3 separate regions of the Homo sapiens genome follow, and regions 2 and 3 are each linked to region 1. Evidence: promoter capture Hi-C in 16 types of primary human blood cells and fetal thymus (Javierre and others, 2016). All regions are on one chromosome and are shown on one strand. Each heading gives the region's core, a stretch centred on a gene start or on the middle of the fragment in contact. The rest is flanking DNA. Distances are from core to core; before and after follow the strand shown. Region 1 holds the start of CARS1 (cysteinyl-tRNA synthetase 1). Region 2 overlaps KCNQ1 (potassium voltage-gated channel subfamily Q member 1). Region 3 overlaps KCNQ1 (potassium voltage-gated channel subfamily Q member 1).

Region 1 (4,655 bases), core at 1,223-3,722:
TGAGGCAGGAGAATCTCTTGAACCTGGGACACTGAGGTTGCGGTGAGCCAAGATGGCACCATTGCATTCTAGCCTGGGCAACAAGAGTGAAACTCCGTCTCAAAAAATTTTTTTAAATTAATTTATATATGTGTATTTATTTATTCATTTATTTATTTTAGAGACAGGGTCTCACTCTGCACCCAGGCTGGCATGCAGTGGCACAATCATAGCTCACTGCAACCTGAAACTCTGGGGCTCAAGCCATCCTCCCTCTTCAGCCTCCCAGAGAGCTGGGATTACAGGTGTGAGCCACCATGCCCAGCTGAAATTTTCCCTTTTTACAAGGATATCAGTTATACTGGATTAACGTCCCCCCTAATGACCTCATCTTATGACTTTATCATCTGCAAAGACCCTATTTCCAAATAAGGTCACATTCACAGGTCCTGGTGGTTATAGGATTTCCACATCTTTTGGGAGAGACACAATGCAACCCATAACAACCTGTAACCCAATGTGCTGTCCCAAAGAACTACAACACCAGGGGGATGCTGAGGTTCAGAGAGTGTCCTTGCCCTGGTGGTAGGGCTGGGACGCAGCAGGACTGGGGAGGCGGGACCCACTGCTGCTAGACACTGCAGCACTCTTAGACACAGCTCGGCCACCTGAGCAGGTGATCATTTCCCAGTTCCGCTCTGCAGACCCTTTTTTTTTTTCCCAGTAGAGATGAAGTTTCACTATGTTGGCCAGGCTGGTTTTGCACTCCTGACCTCAAATGACCTGGCCGCCTTGGTCTCCCAAAGTGCTGGGATTACAGGCGTGAGCCACAGTGCCCGGCCCCACTTTGCAGATTTAAAAACAAGACATCTGGAAGCTCAGAGAAGTTAAACTCACCCCAGGTCTTACAGCCAAACTCTGGCTTGCCTGACCTGATGTCAGGAGGCTTTCTTAGTGCAAGAAAGGAAGGGCAGGGCAAGCCTTAGCCGAATGTTTATCTCTAAGAGGCTTCTGACTCTCCTGGGCGCCTCCGGTTCCTTCTCCCAGGAAGGCATGTGGCCGAGCTGGGCTTGGGTGACTCATGGTCCTAGAGTGATGAGTGAGAAACAGGCACTGTGAGAGTCATGGTAGGACCTGGCCAGAACTTCGTCCCCTAAGTCCTGGACTTGGTCCCTCCTTTGGGATTAGTTGGGGTCTCACAGAGCCTCCCACATCCTGGGCAAGTTACAGCACATGCTACAGGATCTTTGCAGAAATGTAAACAAACTCTTTCTTCTTTTTTTTTTCCAGCCACCAGTAGAATTTAGAATTTATTTATTTATTATTTTATTTATTTATTTATTTATTTATTTATTTGAGACGGAGTCTCACTCTGTTGCCAGGCTGGAGTGCAATGGCGCAATCTCGGCTCATTGCAACCTCCACCTCCCTGGTTCAAGCGATTCTCCTGCCTCAGCCTCCTGAGTAGCTGGGACTACAGGCAAGCGCCACCATGTCCAGCTAATTTTTGCATTTTTAGCAGAGACAGGGTTTCACCATGTTGGCCAGGATGGTCTCGATCTCTTGCCCTCATAATCCGCCCACCTCGGCCTCCCAAAGTGCTGGGATTACAGGTGTGAGCCACCGTGCCCGGCCTTAGAATTTATTATGAAATTAGACATGAGGTTCCAAAAAGTAACTAGAAGATTTTTTACTTTTTATTTTTTGAGAAAGGGTCTCACTCTGTCGCCTAGGCTGGAATGCAGTGGCACAGTCGTAGCTCACTGCAGCTTCAAACTCCTGGACTCAAATGATCCTCCTGCCTTGTCCTTTCAAGGTGCTGGGATTACAGGCATGAGCCACTAATCCTGGCTAATAATTTTTCTTGACATATTAAAATTCTGTTTCTTAAATAGCATTTCCTCTCATTTTGGATGGGTGCACGAACCTTGGGTGGGATATCCTTGGGAGGTGACATCATGCACACAGAAGGCAGGAGCCCTAAGGGGGTTGGGGATGGCTCCAGAATGGGGTCTGAGAAGGAGATGGAGAAGCCTGTTCACGCAACACTTCATAGTGGCTTGCTTTCCGCAGGGTCATTGGCAGGGCGGTCCCTAGGCCTGGAGCGCTCTTCCCGCCCATCCCCAGGCCCTGCTCCAGGTCGGCCTCCTGGGAACCATCCCGTCTCGCCAGCACACCCTGTCCCGAGGCCGCCTCTGACCTCCAGGCTGGGCCTGGTCCCCACGGCGCTTAGCGCAATCATGACTTAAACACCTATTACAGGACGCTCAGTCTTTAGTGCTTGTCTCCCCGCGGCTGGGCTGACTACTCCCAGCACGGCCACTGAACGCTTGGCCGCGCGATGCTCCGGAGCGCGGGTCGCCATTGGGTTGAACTACAGCTCCCAGCATGCTCCGGGCCGGCGACATCCGGAGCCCCTGGTAGTTGCCTAGCGACCGGGCGTGTCCCGGAAGACGGGCCCGGCGTGGGGCGCGACTTCCGGGGCGGCGGTTGCATCAGATTCTAGGAAGTGTCTGTAGCCGCAGCTGCGGGTCCGGGATTCCCAGCCATGGCAGATTCCTCCGGGCAGCAGGGTGAGCGGCGCGGCCGGGCCAGGCTGAGGGCGGCTGGGGGCCTGACTGGGCGCTGGGTGCTCGGCTCGAAGGGCAGCGAGTCCTTATGTCTGAGGGGCCCGGGTGCATGGGTTCTGAGGGGCAGCTGTGTCCGTGGTCTGAGGGGCGGCAGTGCCCGAGGTCTGAGGGGTGTCAGTGCGCGGGGTCTGAGGGACGGCACGTCCTTGGGTCCGAGGGGCGGGGGTGCTCGGGGTCTGAGGGGTGTCAGTGCCCGGGGTCTGAGGGACGGCGGGTCCTGAGGTTCGAGGGGTGGCACGTCCTAGGATCCGAAGGACAACGGGTGCCCGGCTCCGAGGGACGGCCACTGGGACCCCTGGGACTCCTGCGTGAGGGTCTGCCAGACCCGTGGCTGGAGCACAGACCCCGCGGGGACCCGAGCCCGAGCGGGGCGCTGCCCAGACCACCCAGCCTCAGTTTCCTCACTTGGTTCCTGCCGAGGTCCCCTTGCATCCTCACCCCGGGAGGTGGCCCTACATCAAACAGCCTTTCCCCAGCCGGTGCCTGGGCGGGCCCTCGCTCCCTCTTGCCCCAGCTGGCCTTTAGGGGGGAGACAAAGGCCCAAGGGTTGTTTTGGTTTTCTGCCCAGACCTGGCAGCTTCCGGGAGGTGGGCGGAGGGCACCTGAGGTTGGTATTTAGGGAAATGGGGCAGAGGACGCCAGGGGTACGCGTACACACAGTAAAAGGGCTTGGGGCTTTACGAAGGCTTTCATCTCCAGTTCCGCAGGCAGTCCACTGCAAGCTGATTGTCAGAGCATTACTGCCCCATTTTATTGCCAACCCGGGAGGTTCCCCAGGGACACAGCTGTGTCAGCTCCCCCAGTCACTCATGTCACCAGCGGGTAGACCTTGAGAGACCAGTGGGTTCTTCTCTCACTGTCCCTCCAGCAAGATTTTAGGTGCTGGAAAGGCAAGAGACTGAATCAGAAAGCCCAGATTCCTAACAGTCTGGAGCAGCCTTTCCAAAGGAAACATTCTCAGTATCTAGTTTTTAATTCTTTTGGCTGGCAAAAATTAGATGCAAGTTCTTGTAAGACACCTCCAGCCCCCACCCTCAGTTTAGATCGTACCAAGATTTCCTTAGCATCTGGTGGTGCCCTTTGCCCCTGAGGGTTTATTGGGTTATAGATAGGTAGTTATGACAACCCGAGTAATCTGGCGGCATGGGGACACCCAGATGACAGGGCTACACTCTTGTGCCAAGTGGCAGGAGGTGGTCACCTTCCAGGCACGCCGCCTACCACCCTACCTGTGTGCCTGGATTCCAGCACCATCTCCACCCGTCCCAGAGCCAAGCGGCCCTCAGAAGTCACCCAGATTCCTGTAAAACAGCATCATAGTTAACAGCCCCAACTCTGGAACCACCCTGGAAGGGCCAGGGTTCCAACTCTGCCTCCCGCCCCACAGCAAACCATGCGTAATGGCTCCTACCTTGGAGCATGGAGTGTAAATGAATTAATAGATGGGAAGGACGTAGAACAGTGCCTGGCACTCAATTAAGTGCTGTGTCTGTGCTGAAAGTTAGGGCCTGTTTGTTTTCAAACTAAAAATGTGTTTTTGTTCATTTGTGAACGTAAATGACGTATTAGTAGTGTTTTGTATCTTGTTTTTAAAAATAGCTTTAGAATTTTAGGTTTTCAGAGCCTTGTAAGAATTGCCTTCTTTTTGGAGCTTGCCATATAGGTTGGGATTGCCCTCTCCGGGCTGTCAGGGCAGCAGGCAGATTGCCCAGTCCTCAGCCTGCGCACAGCATCTCCAGCCAGTGTTCTTCTGCCCCAGGGCATGGCCCACCTGCCTTTACTATCGCCTCCTCCCATCACACACACACTCTCAAAGATGAGAACAGGAAATAAAATCCAATCGTAGGCCAGGCGCAGTGGCTCACACCTGTAATCCCAGCACTTTGGGAGGCCGAGGCAGGCAGATCACGAGGTCAGGAGATCGAGACCATGGTGAAACCCTGTCTCTACTAAAAATAAAAAAAAAATTAGCCGGGCGCGGTGGCGGGCGCCTGACTACTCGGAGGCTGAGGCCGGAGAATGATGTGAACCCAGGAGGCGGAGCTT
Region 2 (4,655 bases), core at 1,422-3,921, 540 kb after region 1:
GGCGGCTGCGCTGTCCTGGAGCAGAGGGTGGTGGTCTTGCTGGGCAGCAGGGGCCTCGGGGACGGGTGGGAGGGGTGGACAGGCCTCCCCGCCCCTGGGCCAGGGGCTCCGCCCTCCCTCACACAGGGCAGGCGTTAAAGCCTCCAAGAAGTGAATGAAATCATGTCCTTTGCAGCAACACGGATGGATCTGGAGACCATGATCCTAAGTGAACTACCGGAAACAGAAAACCAAACACGGCACGTTCTCACTCATGAGTGGAAGCTAGACAGATGGGATGCTTGGACAGAAAGACGGAGAAAGGTCACTCTGGGACTCCAAAGGGGAGGTGGAGAGGGTGAGAGGGGGAGGGTTGAAAAATTACCTATTGAGTATAACGTCCAATATCCGGCTGATGGGCGCACGAGAAGCCCAAACCCCACCATTACGCACGTAACAGACAAGTATGTGTACTCCTCAAATCTAAAATAAAATAACATAAAAAAACAAGAAAGACTTGAGGAAGCAGGCAGAGCTCCCAGAGCACCTCCACTCGGGAAGGGGGCGAGGTGCGGAAGGACAGCGAAGGCCTCAGGTGCCCTGGAGCTGCCAGGTCAACACGACCCACTGGCGGCTCAGGGTGTGGGTCCTCAGGGTTCATCCCTACTTGGGAAAGTCCCTCCTCACATCTAGCCCAAGTCTCTTTTCGAGACGGAGTCTGGCTCTGTCGCCCAGGCTGGAGTGCAGTGGCGCAATCTCGGCTCACTGCAAGCTCTGCCTCCCGGGTTCATGCCATTCTCCTGCCTCAGCCTCCCGAGTAGCTGGGACTACAGGCGCCCGCCACCACGCCGGGCTAATTTTTTGTATTTTTAGTAGAGATGGGGTTTCACAGTGTTAGCCAGGATGGCCTTGATCTCCTGACCTCGTGATCCCCTTGGCCTCCCAAAGTGCTGGGATTACAGGCGTGAGCCACCGCGCCCATGAGCCACCTCGCCCGGCCAAGTCTTTCTTGCTGTAGCTTGGTCTCCTGTATAGGGAAACCTCCTACCCACTACAGAGAACACTGGGTGTCCCTGGAAATGGAGCTGCTGTGTGGCCTCCTTGAGCCTTGGTTTCCCCACTGGGACATGGGAATGCGTCAAGGGCACCCGGCAACCTGAGCCACATTCATCCTCAGATCAGCCCCAGCCACACCTCAATATTCCAGAGATGGGGCAGCCCCAGGATCTGGGACCACAGGCACCTGGCAAGATGCTGCCGGGCTCTATGACCAGGCTAAGAGTGAGCTGGGAGGCAGCCAGTGTCCTGCACGGAAATGCGCCCCGGCCAGCTCCCTCGGCTCTTCTCACTGCCTCCATGGCCGCCAGCGAGGTAAGGTACGATAATGGCAGGGGAGGGGGGCATCTCCCACTCCGTGGAGGGCCAAGCCAGGAGCTGAGGGCAGCTCAGGTTGGGGAAGCTGACCAGGGCACCAGGAGTGACCTGCACACCCCCCAAATGGAGACAAAGAGTCCCCCAGTGTCACTGTGGGGCCCGGGAGCCACTTGCCTCTCTGAGCAGCTGGGTGAGCCAGCATGGGACAGGCCCCATGCACACACCTTGCAGGCCGGGGGGCATCAGAGGCCTTGAAATAGGCAGGTGGGGCTTTAGCCGGGCAGGTGAATTCTCTTTCTGCACCTGGCCTTCCTCCCTCTCCCAGCCCACTGGAAGGGGCAATAAGGGAGGGCTTCTCAGAGGTGGAGGCCCAGTCTAGGCAGAGAGAATGGCAACCTGTGCAGATCCCAGAGGAGAGAGGAGAACCCAACCTGCAGGGATGGATGGAACTCAGGAGAGAGGCCGGTGCGGAGGCAGAGAAACAGCGGCCAGGGTGGCTGGGACACCCCCAGGCTCTGGTGATGGAGGCTCCCGACAGCAGGCGGGTGGCTGTCTCTCCCAGTAGGCCCCAGCATGGTGGACTGGTGCCTGTGGAACTCTGAACACGGCAGGGATGCCTTGGGCCCAGCAGGGACCTCAGGCCAGCAGGTGCCTGGGCCATGCCCTGGGGAAGAGGGCCCAAGACCCCCTAGGCTCTATGGCTCTGAGGGACTGCCCAGCACTTTGAGGGCAGGGCAGGTGGATCCCATCCCAGACACTCCCCTTTGATCCACAGGGCAAACAGCTGCCCCACCCTCAAGTCCCATGGGTCCCTTGAGGTCATGAAACCTTTCCAGCTGAGTCCAGAACTGACACTTAGAGATAGTCTCTGCGTGGCCATATCAGGGAACAGCCAAGAAGAGCAAAGAGGGCTCAGGTGAGTGACGGCCCCTGGAGTTGTGCAATGACACGGCCAGGAGAGTACAAAGGTCCTGGTCGGAGGGTGGGGGAGTCCCTGCACTCACATCACACAGGGTCAGGATTCCCCCCAGACAAGACCTGGTGGCCCAGAGCGCAGCACAGCATCATGGCTTTCTCCTCGGGAGCTCTCTCCTCCAAGGACCGCTCTTCCCAGTGAGCAGGCCGGGGCTTGAGCAGCCTCCTTCCTGAGCCGCCAACTCTCCATCCTCCCAAGATCCCTGCTCCAGGGTCCACTGCCTTCCCAGAGCCAGAGCTCCTAAAGCCCCATCATCTGCTCCCCAAGACCCTGGGCCAGGAAAACCCTCTGCTGACACAGCAAGGATCTCGCCAAGGGGACAGACCGCCCTGGGGAGCAGGACACGCCAACTCCCACGGCTAGGGGTGCCTCCTCAGTGGGGTTGTTTACCTGAACTCCAGGCGGGCAGACAGGCAGGCGCCCCCAGCCTCCATGACCAGTGGTGGCCCTGAGGCATCCCCTGTAACAGCAGGCTGGACCAGAGAGTGTGGCCCCAGACACCCAGGGACCTAGCCCAGCTCAGCCTCAGGCCCAAGGCACGGACATCCCTGCTCAGAGAGCAAGAGGCGGCCAGAGGGCCTCAGGGCAGGGCTGCACATCCCCGGAAGCCACTGCGGGACACTTCAACTCACACCCTGCTGGCCCCATGCGGTCATGGCCACACTTGTCTTGAGGGAAGACTGGGAGGGGTTGTCATCCCAGGTGGCCGTGTGTCCCATTGCAAATCTGGGTGTGTGGGGGCAAGGATGAGGGGGAAATGGGGATTCAGAGAGGGAGGTAGGCATATTGGGATAGGAGACAGACAGTTCTCCTGGCTGCCCATCTCGGGGGCATCCCTTTTCTGCCAATCCCAGTGGCCCCAGGCATCGACGGGGAGGATGCAGAGGCAGGGGCAGCCTGCGGCCCTCTCCCGCCCCGGCTCCAGCACCCGTAGGGCCCTGAGTCCAGGGAAGGCTGAGCATGTGCGGTTCTCATTGTCACCGGCTGGGCAGGCCAAGTGCTCAGCGAGCTTATGGCCCAGGTTTTGTGCAAATCTTGTTCGACTGAGTGTGTATGGCCCATGGGAAGCCCTGGCATTTGGGAGGCACCTAACCCTGGGATGAGACACAAATCTTGCACGCCGAGCCCGACAGCGCAGCCCCTGATGTCTCTGCCCTCCAGGAAGCAGCCCCATTTCCTTTCTCCAGCTGGCCCGAGACAAATGCTCACGCTTCCTCTGCACTGCTTCCTCATGCCCTGTCCATGCCCGCTCTGACCTGTGCCCTCCACCAGGGAAAACCGCGGGTTTTTCCCTGCACAGGGGGCTGCAGGCCAGGCCGGGCTCCACAGGGCAGATTGAGGGGCCCGCATGTGGCCAAGCACCCCCTCCCCTGGGCTCCTGCATGGAGGTTCCCAGCTCCCAGAGAACCTTCCGGGCCACAATTCCACTAGGCCTGGCTTTCACCAAATCCAGGAGTCACTCATGGGCCTGGAGGGAGGAAGTGGCTAATTTTGCAACAGGCCTGGCATGGGGCATTGAATTATTCAACAACAGATGCATTTAGCAGTTTTATTTCTGTCTCGGTATCCTCAGTCCCGCCCAACAGGAGCCCAGCTCTGGCAGGAGGGGCAGGTTGGCACCTCTACACAGCGGCTGGGAGCATGGAGACCACTCACCCGTCACCTGCCACAAACCACTAGTCATGGAGGGTGGACTCCCAGGCCACAGACTGACCAGGACTCAGGTAAGCCATATTACCACCCATGCAGAGACTGACCCTGAAGGGCTGCTGGGCCTGACGAGGTGGTTCTGGTTCCATGGGGGTGGGGGAGAGTGAGAGGGCATTCAGAAACAGGAATCAGGCGGTGCCAGCTGCCTCCCCAGGAAGCCCTCCAGTGGCAACCTCTGGCTCTCAATTCTGGCCCTGCTGCCAGGAACAGTAGGGGCTGCCCCCTTCCCCACCCCACGTCTCCTCCTTTTCCGTGACAGTCACACCCAAGGTGCATCCCACAAGAGCCACATCCCATGCCTGGCTTTTGTCCCTGCTGCCCCCAACCCAGGAGGCACGTAGTGTGTGCCTGGCACCACGCTGGGCTCCAGGGGTGCAGAGACAGATAACAGACACAGGGAGAGAGAAAATAAACCGTAAATGAACACATAAAACCACCACCAATGGGGAAAAGAGAAAGGGTGACGTCTCGGGGAGAGGCAGGGCAAGAGGGCTGCCCCAGGAGCTGGTGTGGGATCTGAATCGGGTAGAGAGCTAGGGACAGACCCTGCAGGCAGAGAAAACTGCACGTGCAGAAGCCCTGAGGCATGGCCTGGTCTGGGCCAGGGGAGCAGAGT
Region 3 (4,655 bases), core at 680-3,179, 520 kb after region 1:
ATTTTATGATAAACTGAACCTCTTAAAAGGAGTCAAGATGATTCACTGGGTAAAGGATACTCTTTTCAACAAATGACACTGGACCAGTCAGTCATCCATAAGAAAAAACACATGAATCTCCGCCTATGTCTTACATGATAGAGAAAAATTAACTCAAAATGCATCCTAGGCCTAAAGGTAAGCACAAAAATTATAAAACTACTAGCAGAAAATCTTAGTAAGAGTGTGTTTGGTAAGCATTTCCTAAATAGAATGTGAAAAGCATGAAACATATTTAAAAGGAAAAAGCTATATTTGACTTCATAAAATTGAAAATGTTTGGTCTTTAAAAGATACTATTGGGCCTGGAGCAGTGGCTCACACCTGTAATTCCAGCGCTTTGGGAGGCCGAGGCAAGGGGATCGCTTGAGGCCAGGAGTTTGACACCAGCCTGGGCAACAAAGTGAGACCCTGTCTGTACAAGAACTTTAAAAAGTTAGCACCTGTGGTGGCACATGCCTATAGTCCCAGCTACTTGGGAGGCTGAGGTGGGAGGATCCTCGGAGCCCAGGAATTCGAGGTTGCAGTGAGCTACGTTTACGCCACTGCACTCCAGCCTGAGCACAGTGCATGACCCAGTCTCAAACAAAAAAAAAAGATACTACTAAATAAATGAAAAGGAAAGCCACCGACTAGAGAATACATGTGTAAAACAAATATCTATGTAACCAGAATATACAAAGAACTTTTACAACTCAGATGACAAACAGCCCAATTTTACAATGGGTGAAACATTTAAAAAGATATGTCACCAAAGATGTTTCCTGGATGCCAATGAAACACGTGAAAAGATATTCAACATCACTGGTCCTTAGGAAATGAAAGTTAAAACCACAGCAGGATGCCACGCACACCTCTTAGACTGGCTAACATGAAAATGACGGACCACGTCAAGGGTTGATGAGTTAGCCAGTTTCTTAAATAGTTAAAAATATACACTCACCACATTATCCAGCCATTCTATACCTAGGTATTTACCCATGCAGAAAGGAAATATAAGTCCCTACAAACACTTTTATACAGAGTCCGCCAGCACACAAGTGGATAAACAGACTGCAATGCGTCCGTACAATGGGATACGGCTCAGCAATGAAAAAGGAATGAATTATTACATGCCACAGCCTGGATGACTCTCAAATATGGAACCAGACAATAAAAACCACACACTGTATGATTGCACTGACAACAAGCCCCAGAAAACGCCAACCGTCTACACTGACAAGACAGACCAGGGGTCCCCTCCGGAGCCAGGAGCAGCGGAGGAGGGGCCAGCGACGGGAGCGAGAAGCCTTCTGGGGGTGACGGATGTGCCTGCTGTCTCAATTGTGGTGATGGTCCTGTGGCGTACACCCATGTCCAGATTTGTCAAATCCTACATTTTAAACAAGGCCTTCCACTCTATGCCAATTATACCTCAACAAAGCTGATTTTTTGTTTGAGTGAGCAGAATAAATAAAACTGAGGCTATGGCGGTTCCTGGCTGAGGCCCCTCCTTCGCAATTAGCGCGCCTTTGGTGGGCACGGGGCCCCTTACACCGGCTTCCCCTAGCACTTCCTTCCCCGCCCCCGCCAGGGGAGGAGGCATCGTCCACCAACACCCTTTTGCCCTCTTGGCCATTGGCTCTGGACTGAGAACCTTCATGCCCAATGTCCCCACACCCTCGGCACAGCCCCAGGAACTGAGGTCCTGATATGACCTGAATTTCACACATGAGGAAGCTGAGGTGCAGAGAGGATTGGTGACGTGTGTGGACCCACGGGGAAGTCTCAGGAGTCTGGATACCCCCATATCCTGGAGTTTCCCCAGCAAGGTCTGGGAGTCTTTCTGCAATCCCAGGCTCCAGGGCCATGGAGAGCCACAGCAGGCACGGCGACAGCCTCTGAGGCCCACCCCAAGCCAGGGGACCCCACGGTGCAGCTCTGCGCCGGCCTTTCACAGGAGGGGTGCAGAGGCCTCCAGAGGCTGCCGACTGGCCCCCAAACCCCCTTAGCTGATGTCTATGCGAGGACCAGCCACAGGACCTGGGCCTCAGCGCCTCTGACAGGGGCTCCATGAACTCTGGGGAGAAACTACAAATTCTTACAAACTCCCGGGATGAGAGGGGGTTTTCCAAAGGTTCTAGAACTCCTAAGTGGTCTAACAGATGTCCTCATTTAAAAAAAAAAAAAAACTCAAAACACCTGAGCCTGAGATGAAGCAAGAGAACTTGAGCAGAAGGGGGCTTTCTGGGAACGTTCAGAGTATCCTAACGGTGGGGACAAAGCCCTGCTCACAAGCATCCCGAAAACGGCGTCCCCATGGCTTTGTCCTCAATCCCAGGCTTTCATAGCCACCGCCAGGTCCAGGGACCTGGCTGGGTAGGCCACACTGAGAACTAACCAACGAAAAGGGCCCAGCTCAGTCCCTCCCCCGAGGACAGCAGCCATCCCTGACCCTCCCCAGCCAGTTTCAGAAAACGGTCAGTGAGAAGAGACACAGGCCCCGCTAAAGAAAGCTAAAATGAAATAAAGACGCCCGCCCTTCCCCCAGGTTCCCCACCAAATGCTGCTCTGAATGCACGCATCATTCTCAGCACATGGTGCTCGGAAACTGACCAGATCATCACCCCGCCAGGAAAAGGGGCTGGCCTGCGCCTCTCGGCACACACTTGACATTTTGTTCTCATCCAGGCTTCCCATGCTGACAGTTTCTGGATTAAATGTGCAAATGGAACGCGGCCCCAAGGGGGTCTCTCTCCCTGCCTGCCTGAGGTCCAGGGCTGGGTGTGCACGTGTGCACGTGTGCATGCAGGCACGTGTCTGAGCCTGAACGTGCACACACACGTGAGTGTGTCCACATGGGTACCTATGTGTGCATACGTCCACACGCCCATCCGTGCACATATGTCTGTGCGTGTGTGCCTGTGCATCCTCTTCTCCATAAGGCATCTGGGCTGGACACGAGTGTGTTTTTCAACCCCCGACTTCAACTACCTTGACCATGACCAAGTCTGGAAAACTCACCACCAGCTCACAGCCGCCCAGGACTTTTCTCAGCCCAACAGGGATTGGCTTCACCTAAAAATCTAAATGCAGTCCCCTCACAGCAAGTCCCCAGGCTGTGCTCTCTGCCTCCCATTGCCACCCTAGAGGGCACAAAGCTGTGAGGCCCAGAGGACCAGAACGCACCTTCCCAAGTGGCCAGGAGTCAAGACTGCATATTTGGGGAGGAGACTATTGTCCCCAGTTGCCAGGGTCCTAAAGACACCTGAAGGGAACATCCACTCCTCCTGAGGCCAGCTGGAGCTGACCTTGGGGTTGAGAGCATCTCCCACAAGCTACTGAGGAGGCTGCTGGCCGCCCCTGGCCCCAGGTACCCCAGTCATCCCACCAGGCATCCCGTTGGCCAGTTTTATACCCGGGAGAAAGAAAATCTCGTGGGAAGAGCTGTCTAGGCCTGGCCCTGAACAGGGGGCTGGGATCCGAGGTGCTCGAGCCGTGGCTCCTGACCCCGTGAGGCCGCACCGAGCCCTGTCCCCCCAACCTGCAAAGTCACATGATGACACACTTCAATGGTGCACGGCCAGGGCCTCTGGTTTTCACTCTGTGTGACCTGGGAAGCCAAGAACATAATTAGAACTCATCTGAATGTAATGCCCTCTAGGGGGTTCCCCTGGCACCTGCCCAGCCCCCTCCCCAGGCTGCTGCCCAGCGTCAGAGGAGACCTCAGGCTACCTCCTTGTTCAGGGACACAGCGGGTGGACCCCACTGTGCAGTACTCCATGGCCAGTGGGCCCCACAGGGTGGATCCTATTATCCCCCAATGACTTCCCTAGCAGCCCCCTAGGAGCCCCACGTGCAGTGCCAGTGCCAGCTCCCCCAAGCCTGCCTGCGCCCGGCCTGCTCAGCCCGTCCCGTTGTGTTGTGTCAGCTGCTGCCCTGCGCTTCAAGCGAGGCTCTCCAGCTGGCCAGGGTCAGATGTGAAAACAAGGACATAACCCAACCCGGCCCGCCGGCTCCCCTGCACCAGAGACCCCCACCGAACGTGGCACTCACTGATGAGGCTCTTTCCAGCCCTCAGGCAGAACATAAAGGAAACACCTGTCCCCATGGCCGCACACTCTAATCCCACTAAACCCGAATGGAGAAGCCTGGGGGCCCCTGCAGCAGGCGCACCCCCCACCAAGGTCTGACTTTTGTCCTGGACTATGGGGAAGGCGGGAGAGAAAACACGGGAACTGGCCTGGGAGAGCTGGAAAGCCGCGGCCGCCCTTCACCAGGGATGCAACTTCCAACCAGACCCAGGGCTGCAGAGAGCAGAGCACCATGGCGGTGTTCCCTTCGGCCAGCACAGCCATCGGCTTGGCTCCCAGGCTGCCGCGGTGGAGTCCGCACAGGGTCACACGCTTGTGGGGCCTCTCACCAGAGCTCCCGCAAAGATGTCAGGTATTGTCTAAGATGCCAGCGCCTGCCTAGCGTAAGCCCGTTCCTCTAGCCACTCAATGCTCTGGAAAGATTGCGCTCCTGTAGCTTGAAAACAGGGAAGACGATGGAACCAGCCGACAGGGCCCCAGACTCTTCAGGCAGCAGCAGGTAGGAGCTTCTACCTGGCCATTATGGGGTCTTTCTGGGGCCCA

Evidence for each region. Contacts are between HindIII fragments. The CHiCAGO score rates a contact against its expected background, and 5 or more counts as called.
Region 2: a fragment that was not itself captured here is called in contact with the fragment with the promoter of CARS1 in region 1 in 1 of 17 cell types (naive CD8 T cells); the score reaches 5.5 in naive CD8 T cells.
Region 3: a contact is called between a fragment that was not itself captured here and the fragment with the promoter of CARS1 in region 1, in 6 of 17 cell types (naive CD8 T cells, non-activated CD4 T cells, total CD4 T cells and 3 more). The highest score is 7.4, in naive CD8 T cells.

Annotation. Positions count from the first base shown.
Region 1 is chr11:3,055,240-3,059,894 of GRCh38, reverse strand. CARS1 (cysteinyl-tRNA synthetase 1) reads left to right here and starts at 2,472. Exons shown (of 23, transcript NM_001014437.3): 1 at 2,472-2,552. The coding sequence starts at 2,528. LOC124902615 (a long non-coding RNA gene) reads right to left here and starts at 1,271. Exons shown (of 2, transcript XR_007062555.1): 1 at 877-1,271. RefSeq lists an enhancer at 2,286-2,818. The HindIII fragment of the contact is 6,695 bases long and covers 1-4,655 here.
Region 2 is chr11:2,510,858-2,515,512 of GRCh38, reverse strand. The region is part of intron 1 of KCNQ1 (potassium voltage-gated channel subfamily Q member 1); the gene reads right to left. It overlaps LOC124902613 (a long non-coding RNA gene), which reads left to right and starts at 3,922. Exons shown (of 3, transcript XR_007062553.1): 1 at 3,922-4,053. The HindIII fragment of the contact is 8,148 bases long and covers 1-4,655 here.
Region 3 is chr11:2,539,260-2,543,914 of GRCh38, reverse strand. All of the region lies in intron 2 of KCNQ1 (potassium voltage-gated channel subfamily Q member 1), which reads right to left. Among named protein-coding and RNA genes, the nearest start is that of KCNQ1, 97 kb to the right of the region's middle. The HindIII fragment of the contact is 9,571 bases long and covers 1-4,655 here.